2 separate regions of the Homo sapiens genome follow, and region 2 is linked to region 1. Evidence: promoter capture Hi-C in 16 types of primary human blood cells and fetal thymus (Javierre and others, 2016). All regions are on one chromosome and are shown on one strand. Each heading gives the region's core, a stretch centred on a gene start or on the middle of the fragment in contact. The rest is flanking DNA. Distances are from core to core; before and after follow the strand shown.

Region 1 (4,031 bases), core at 173-2,672:
CACAGGAGGCTGAAACAAGAGCGAAGACTGTTCCAGCAGAGGGAGGAGCCAGCGCAGATGACTTCACGAGAAAGTTCCTAGGCCTGCTGGAGCAGCGGCCGGGACGCCCAAAGGAGCGGGAGCCCTACAGGCAGGCAGGGATGGTCCCAGAAGGAGTTGGTGCCCAGCCACAGGGTCTTGTAGACCATGGTGATGATGTTTGTTTTATTCTAAGAACGCTGGGAAGTCATTGAAGGATTTTACAAGAAAGATGAAACATGATTTGAAGTTCATTTTTGAAAGATCGCATCAGCTGCTCTGTGAAGAGGAGTTTTGAAAGAGGCAAGAGAGGAGGCAGGACAGCCACTGTGGCCTGCAGGTCCTCAAACGATTACACAGAGTTACCGTGTGACCCACAGTTCCACTCCTCTGTATAGACCCACGAGAAACGAAAACATATATTCATACAGAAACCTGTACAAAATGTTTAAAGCAGCATTATTTGTAATAGCCCAAAGATAGAAACGACATAAATGTCCACCAATGAATCCATACAATGAGGTAGTTATTTGGCCATAGAAAGGAATGAAGTGCCGATAGGACAGCATGAATGAACCCGGGAACCATCACGATAAGTGAAGGAAGCCATTCACAAAAGACCACGGATTGTATGATTCCATTTAGACAAAATGCCCAGAAGAGGCAAATCTCTAGAGACAGAAAGTAGATTACTAGTTGCCTAGGGCTGTAAGGGTGAGCGTTGGGGAGGGGAGATAGCTGAAGGGTCAGAGCTTCTTTTTGAGGTGATACAAATGCTGTAAAATGGACCACGGTGACGATTGCAGCTACATGGAATATACTAGCAACCATTGAATTGTATACTTTTTTTTTTTAAGTGAAAGCAAGCTTATTAGAGAAGTAAAGAAACAAAAGCATGGCCACTCCATAGGCAGAGTAGCCTGAATTGTCCACTTTAAATGGGAGAATTACATAATATATGAATTACATTTCAATAACGCTGTTTAAAAGAAAAAAAAAAGAGTGAAATCTCAGAGGAGGCCACTGAGCACTCTGGTGGAAGAAAATGGTGACTTAGGCCAGGGTCATAGAAGTAGAGACAGCAAGAAGGGATGAAAACAGTGGATTGTGGAGGCCGAATAGACAACCGATGAATAGGTCAACACCTGCTGTCCATCTGTACGAGGGAATATTATTCAGCCATAAAAAGAAATGAAATGAACCTTGCTGCAACATGATGTTAGGTGAAATAAGCCAGACACAAAGGCCCCATATGGAATGATGTCACTTACACGAGGTTTCTACAATAGGCAAATTCATAGAGACAGAAAGAATGGAGGTTACCAGGAACTGGGAGGAGAAAAGAATGGGACATTATTATCTCACAGTTCCAGAATTTGTTTGGGATGATTTAAAAAAAAAAAAAAAAGCTCTGGAAATAGATCATCAGGATGGTTGCACAATGTTTTGAATGTAAATGCCACTGAATTGTACACCTTAAAAGGGCTCAAATGGTAAATATTATGCTATGTATATTTTACCATGATGAAAATAAACGTACAAAAGTGAGACAGCAGTGAGTCTAGGCCTCCCTTTTAAGAAGCGATGGCATCAAAGAGAGCAGAGGAAGAGAGATGGAAGTTAGGAAGGGGTTTTTCAAAGAGCAGATTCACGGGAAACGATTCATTCGTGCAGGAGAGAAAGGATGAAGGAGGAGCGGGGTCCCTTGAATGTCCACAGGCAGAAGACGAGGGCAGAAGGGGAGGAGGTTGTCTTTGTGGCGGACAGAGGAGCTGTGAATAGGGAGGGAAACAAGGGTGTGCCTTCCGTTTACTCAGCACAGGAAGAAGCAAGGCGAGGAAGAACAGGCTCCTTTTTGAAATGCAAAAGCCTGTTCTTATCTAAACACTCTTGCATAAGACAAACAAGAGCGCTACCCAGTTGGTGACTTGGGACAGGAATGCCTGCCACCCTCTTAAACGTTCTCTCCCCTCCCCTAGCCTAGACTGAAGACCTCGGCCTCCAGCTTCTCTCCCAGACCCTTTCTTGGCTGGATGAGGTCACTCACCCCTTTTGAAAGCTCCACAGGCATTTCTGGACCAAGTTCCCTCACTCTTTTAAATGGTTCTGTAATTGCTTCATTCGCATAAACCTGCCCTCCTGGGCATCTGAACAGCCCCAGGGCAGGGCCTGACTGCAGAGCCAGCTTCCTTACGCCAAGGCCCTCGTGCCTGCGTCCCTCCTCGCCTTCAGCCATGAGGTTGCCTGGCCAGCGGTGGGGGTCGCCTGGATCGTGGGGATGTTCCCCCCACCCACCTGGCCCCACCAGTGAAGGGCCCCAGCTGACACCATCTCTCTTGTTTCCTGTTTTCCTGGGTCAGACCCAGCTGGAGGTCTGCAAATTCTGAAGCAGTTCTCAACCCTGGGTGCACATTTTAATCATTTTTTACAAAATACGAATGCCTGATGTCCAGCCCTGACACTGGTCTGCTTGGTCTGGGGGTGAGGCCCTGGAACGGATGTGTTTAGATTTCCCATGAGACTCTGATGTGCAGCCAGGGTACCAACCTCTGCTCTAAAGCAGGTGAGATTGCCCTGGGGACTTCATTAGAATCAGTGCCCAATTCCTCCACCCCCGCAGAGATTTCGCTTCTGGAAGTCCAGAGTCGAGGTCCAAGAATCTGTGCATTTTAACAATACAGCCCCCAGGGGAGCTTGATGAAGGTCCCTTGGGAAGTTCAGGGCATGGTGCAGGGGACACTGTCTCTCTCTCCTTCCCTCTCATCTGCATCAGCTCCCCAGGCAGGTGGCACTTTCTCTGGACAGGTCTGGAGTCAGGGCTGCAAGGCTGGTTTATGCCTGGAGGTCGGGGGATGATGTGAGGTGTGCATAGAGAGAAGCCCCTGTGAGGAACGGGGACCACTCCTGCTCACCCACATCAGTGACAGCCCAGCCTGGGGCTGGCCCTGGAAGGCCAAAGAGTGAACAGGTCTGGGGGCTGGTGCTGGGTTGAGCTCAAGGGCCTGGGGCTGGGGTCTCCATTCCAGATTCCTCCTTCCCTCTGTCACTTCAAGTACCATCAGAGCCACCTGGGGATTTTGTCCTGAGTCACTCTGAGGCAGAGCAGGTGAGGCTGTGCTGGGGAGGAACATGGGGGCCTGAGCCCCCGACTCCTCCCCATTCCCCCACCTGCCCTGCTTCAAGGACTTGTCTAAACTACACAATGCCAGGCCGGCGCTCCCAGCTTGGGCTCTCACCCCAGGTCCCATTGAGAAGGTGGAGAAGGGTCAGGATGGAAGTTTCAGGCAGGTGGTCCAGGAGAGGACAGTCCTGGGTGGAGTCTGGGTCTTGGGTGCTCTGGGCAGCTCATCACCTTGAGTGTCCAGACTGTCAAGTCCGAGCGAGACAGGCAAAACCCCTAAGTGGACAAGAGTTGGCAGGGACCAGGGCAATGATTAAATCCACTTCAGATCATTTCTGTGGCCGTCTTGTTACCCAGCCCTGGCTATGTGTTTCAATAACGGCTGACAGCGGGTGCAGTGAGCTGGGCTGGAAACTGCCACATCCATCCACCCTGCTCAGGGACAGCTGCTCCCCTATCCACAATTCCCTTGTCCCAGAGGCCAGGACTGAGGCCAGGACACTGACTAGACACCCAGGCCTCCTGGCCTCTAAGAGCCACTCATGGGAGTCATCCACGACATCTGGGGAACCTCCTTGACTTCAGAGGAGGATATTGGAGCCCAAGCTAATTGATGGGTAAGCCAGGACCTGAACACAGGTGGTCAAGCTCCATCCTCCCCTTGGAGAGAGGACACAGTCCTACAGAAAGCCAGACTGCTTGGATTTGAATCCAGGCTCTGCCTCAGACGAGCTGTGTGACTCTGGACCTGGGTCTCAGCCTCTCTGTGTTCCAAGTGTCCTGTCTATTAATGTGGACGATAACAGTCCCTACCTCTTAGGGTTACCATGGGGATTAAATCTGGTAATTTAATTTTTGTCTTTCTTTTGAGTCAGAGTCTCGCTCTGTTGCC
Region 2 (4,007 bases), core at 547-3,046, 390 kb after region 1:
ACTGAATTGGGGATCCATTCTTAATTAAATGTAAATTAGTTAAAATTAAATCACATTAAATCAAAGGGACACCAGCCACATTGCAGGAGCTCATAGGCACGTGTGGCTCATGGCCCCTGCATTGGGTGGTTCAGGTCACAGGGCCTGGATACCCTGGCTCCTGGGCAGCTGGAGAACAGGCATCCCAGAAGCCTGCCCAAGAGAGGGGAGCAGCTCACACCCCTGCCCCACCGCTCACCGACCTGTGGCCCAGGCGAGTCCCATGGTCCCTGAGCCTCAGTTTCCCCATCTGTAAACTGGTGCCTATGGCAAAGTTGGGAGGACTAAATGAGGTGGCACAGGTGGGTCACATGGTCTCTGAGCCTCAGTTTCCCCATCTGTAAATTGGTGCCTATGGCAAAAATGGGAGGATTCAATGAGGTGATTCAGGGAGGATGGATCACGTTAGATGTCCCTTGTCCTGGCTGTTACGCAAAGCGTCTGGGGCAGTGAGATCCAGTGAGGCCCCCCGTGTGGGGAGCCCCGTACACTTCCTCCCACCCCAGGGCCCACCCTATGCCAGGAGCTCACCGGGAAGACACCCCTCCTCTTTGCTCGGGCTCACCTGTGATTTTCATGGTCTGGCCTTTGGAGCCCCATTTACCCCAATAACCCACTTGTGCTGGGGTGACCTTCATTAACAGTAAATCTGCTCCAGGACTCACTTCTCTGAGACCCACTCAACTCCCGCTGTCTCCCAGGGAGCCACGCCATGAAATGCCTGAGGCCTTGCCCGGTACCCTGCAGGGCTTAATGTGCGTCCCCGAGCCTGCGACTCCCACCTCTCCATAGCCTCTGAGTCTGTCACTTGGACTAGGGCTAGCAGGGAGAGCTCTTCCCTGCACAGGCAGGCAAATCTCCAGGAGGGGAGGCTGTCATTTATTGAGCACCTACTGTGTACCAGGCACTCTGCAGTCACCCCAGACCAGCTTAGCTGCCCCCTTCCCGGCAACCATCACACGCTCTTTCATTCATTAACCCCACGAGCATTGGTTCGACTTCCTCTGGGACATCACCCTCCATGAGGACAGACCCTGGCCATCTCGCTTGGTGGAGAATCTCTGGTGCCTGGAACACAGCCTGGCACGTGTCAAGCATTCACCTAGGAAAGATTTGTTGAGCTGGGGCCTGAATTCATACAACCCTGAGAGGTAGTGACTTTCATCCCCATTTCCCCCCTGAGAAGACTGAAACTCAGTAGGATGAAGTCACCAGGATACCTGGGGGCAGAGCTAGGCTTTGAGCCCAGGTCTTCCTCACCCCTGGGACCCTTTCTCACTGTGCCAGCATCCCTGGCCACCTCAGCCCCCATCGAGCCCTGCAGGCTGCCACCTGGGCCTGAGCACATGGCCATCTCTCCTCCATTCCTTCCAGAGCCAACGAGCCAGCCCTGAGCCCTGGGGCAGCCCTCGTATTTTTAAACTCAGAACTCGCCTTCCTTGAGGTCTCCCTGTTTACCTGGCTGTGCCATGCGGCGCTCTGGCTTGGGCTCTAACTGTCTGTCTCTTACTTGTGCCCCATTAATCTGAGCCGTGGTACCTGCGCGCCCCCGCATGTAATAAACAACTTAGAGCACACTTTTATGGATTCAGCTATATCAGCAGCTTTCAATCCGATCGCTCGTTATGGCACCTACATGAGGCTTTTATATTGTTGCAATTATTTTGCTTTATATGCTTCCTTTCTTTCCCCCTTCATTTTACTTTATTTTTTACATTTTATGCGCATTCTTCCTGGGCCTTTTCTAGCAAGGCCTGGAGTCAAGGAAGGAAAACCTGCCCAGGGCTGACAAGGTGGCCCAGAGGGGCAGTGGGGCCACTGTGCACCCTGCCCCTAACCCCATAAAGAACAGCCTGTCACTGTCACCGCAGGGCCCAGCATGTCATCATGGCCTACTACCTCCAGAACCTTCTGGAAAGGGGCCAACTGGATAGATTTGTTGTGGAGAAAAAGTCCTCAGAGGTTGTATTTTCAGGAGCCATGGATCAGGCATACACAGAATATTGGAGTTTATGCCAATATCGGGCCTACACTGACCCATCAAGATGAAAATCTGGCCTCTACTTTAAAAAAAAAAACTCAAAATATAAAAAAAAGGAATTGCTACCACCTCTATTAGAAGAGGAGTTTGGAGTGTTTCTCTCTCTTTTTTTTTTTCCAATAAAACCCACTTACAGGAAGTTCTTGTTCATTTCAATCATCGACCCTGGGAGTTGGATGATGGTAACTCTAGATCCATTCATTTGTTCACTTAACACACGTATTTGAGCACTTACTGTGTGCCAGGCATCCTTCTTCGTGCTGGAGGAGAGGTGGTCGTCAAGACCGCAGGAGTTGGCCAGGCGTGGTGGCTCACACCCATAATCCCAGCACTTTGGGAGGCCGAGGCGGGTGGATCATCTGAGGTCAGAAGTTCAAGACCAGCCTGGCCAACATAGTGAAACCCCGTCTCTACTAAAAATACAAAAATTAGCCGGACGTGGTGGTGGCACCTGTCATCCCAGCTACTTGGGAGGCTGAGGCAGGAGAATCACTTGAACCTGGGAGGCAGAGGTTGTGGTGAGCCGAGATCGTGCCACTGCACTCCAGCCTGGGCAACAGAGCCAGACTCCGTCCAAAAAAAAAAAAGACTGCATGAGTCAGCTCTTGGTGCCATAACAAAGCACCACAGCTGGGGGCTTACAAAGCAAATGTTCTGGCTCCCACCATCCTGGAGGCTGGAAGTCCCAGATTGGGAAGCCAGTATGGTCAGCTTCTCTTCTCAGCTTGCAGATGTCTGCCTTCCAGCCGTGTCCTCACATGGCGGAGAGAGAGCCAGCTCTGGCCTCTTCCTCTTTTTATAAGGACATGAATCTGAAATATGGAAATATACACACCTAACAAGTACCTGGAAACCTGCTTTCTGAGAGTTTCATCCTTAACTCTTTCATTTCATTCAATGAGAGAATTAAAGTATTACATGCTTTTCTAAGCAAAAGTTGACAATATGTTAAGAGAACATTTTTCTTTTTCCTTGGGACCCTCATTGGCCCTCATGAGGCCCGGCCCTCGTGGCCTCATCTAATCCTAATCACCTCCCAAGGGACTCCTCCAAATGCCATCACTTTGGAGGTTAAGGCTCAACATATGAATGGGTGGGGGACACAGCTCAGTCCACAGCAAAGACCCATGAGGTTCCTGGTCAGGGAGAATTTTAGTCTCTTATGGCCTGCACAACAAAGTACTACCAGCTGAGTGGCTCACAACAGAAATTGAGCCTTTCACAGTTCTGGAGGCCAGAAGTCTGAAAATCAAGGTGTCAGCAGGGCTATACTTCTCTGAAGATTCTAGAGGAGTCTCATTTCTTGCCCCTTCCTGGCTTCCGGTGGTGGCCAGCAATGCTTGGCATTCCTTGGCTTGTGGCCACATCTCTTCACTCTGCCTCTGTCTTCACAGAGTCTTCCAGGCTGTGCATCTGTGTCTCAATTTCCCTCTTCTTACAAGGACACCAGTCGTATTGGATCTTGAGCCCACCCTGATCCAATATGACCTCACCTTAACTAATTACAAACCTGTAATGATCCTATATGCAAATAAGGTCACATTTACAGGTGCCAGATGGGCATGAATTGGCGGGAGGTGTGTTGGGGGAGGGGGCCGGTGACTCTGTTTGACCTCGTACAGAGAGTTTGCATTCTGGTGGAGGACGTGGACAATGCAGAACTAAACCAACAAGGTCAACCCGGGCAGAGGGAAGGATTTGAAGGGAATGGAACAGGACAGGGTGGTGGTGGGGAGAGGGGGGTGTGGCTGCTTTACAGGAGGGGTGGGGAAGGCCGTCAAGGTCAGCGATGTCTCTCCTTGGACCCTGGTGTGGTGACTCATCAACAGAGGAAGTAGAGGGATCAGGTAGTCCCTGGGGTCAGTGTCTGGAGGTCTGCTCTGGGGCTGCCCCCATGGCCACCTGCTCCACTCGGTAAGGACAAAGA

Evidence for each region. Contacts are between HindIII fragments. The CHiCAGO score rates a contact against its expected background, and 5 or more counts as called.
Region 2: a contact is called between a fragment that was not itself captured here and the fragment with the promoter of LINC00469 in region 1, in 1 of 17 cell types (M2 macrophages). The highest score is 5.3, in M2 macrophages.

Annotation. Positions count from the first base shown.
Region 1 is chr17:73,825,928-73,829,958 of GRCh38, reverse strand. It overlaps LINC00469 (long intergenic non-protein coding RNA 469), which reads left to right and starts at 1,422. Exons shown (of 4, transcript NR_027146.1): 1 at 1,422-1,511. RefSeq lists enhancers at 1-83, 84-585, 1,576-2,085. The HindIII fragment of the contact is 4,592 bases long and covers 888-4,031 here.
Region 2 is chr17:73,441,009-73,445,015 of GRCh38, reverse strand. The region is part of intron 5 of SDK2 (sidekick cell adhesion molecule 2); the gene reads left to right. Among named protein-coding and RNA genes, the nearest start is that of SDK2-AS1, 71 kb to the left of the region's middle. The HindIII fragment of the contact is 8,005 bases long and covers 1-4,007 here.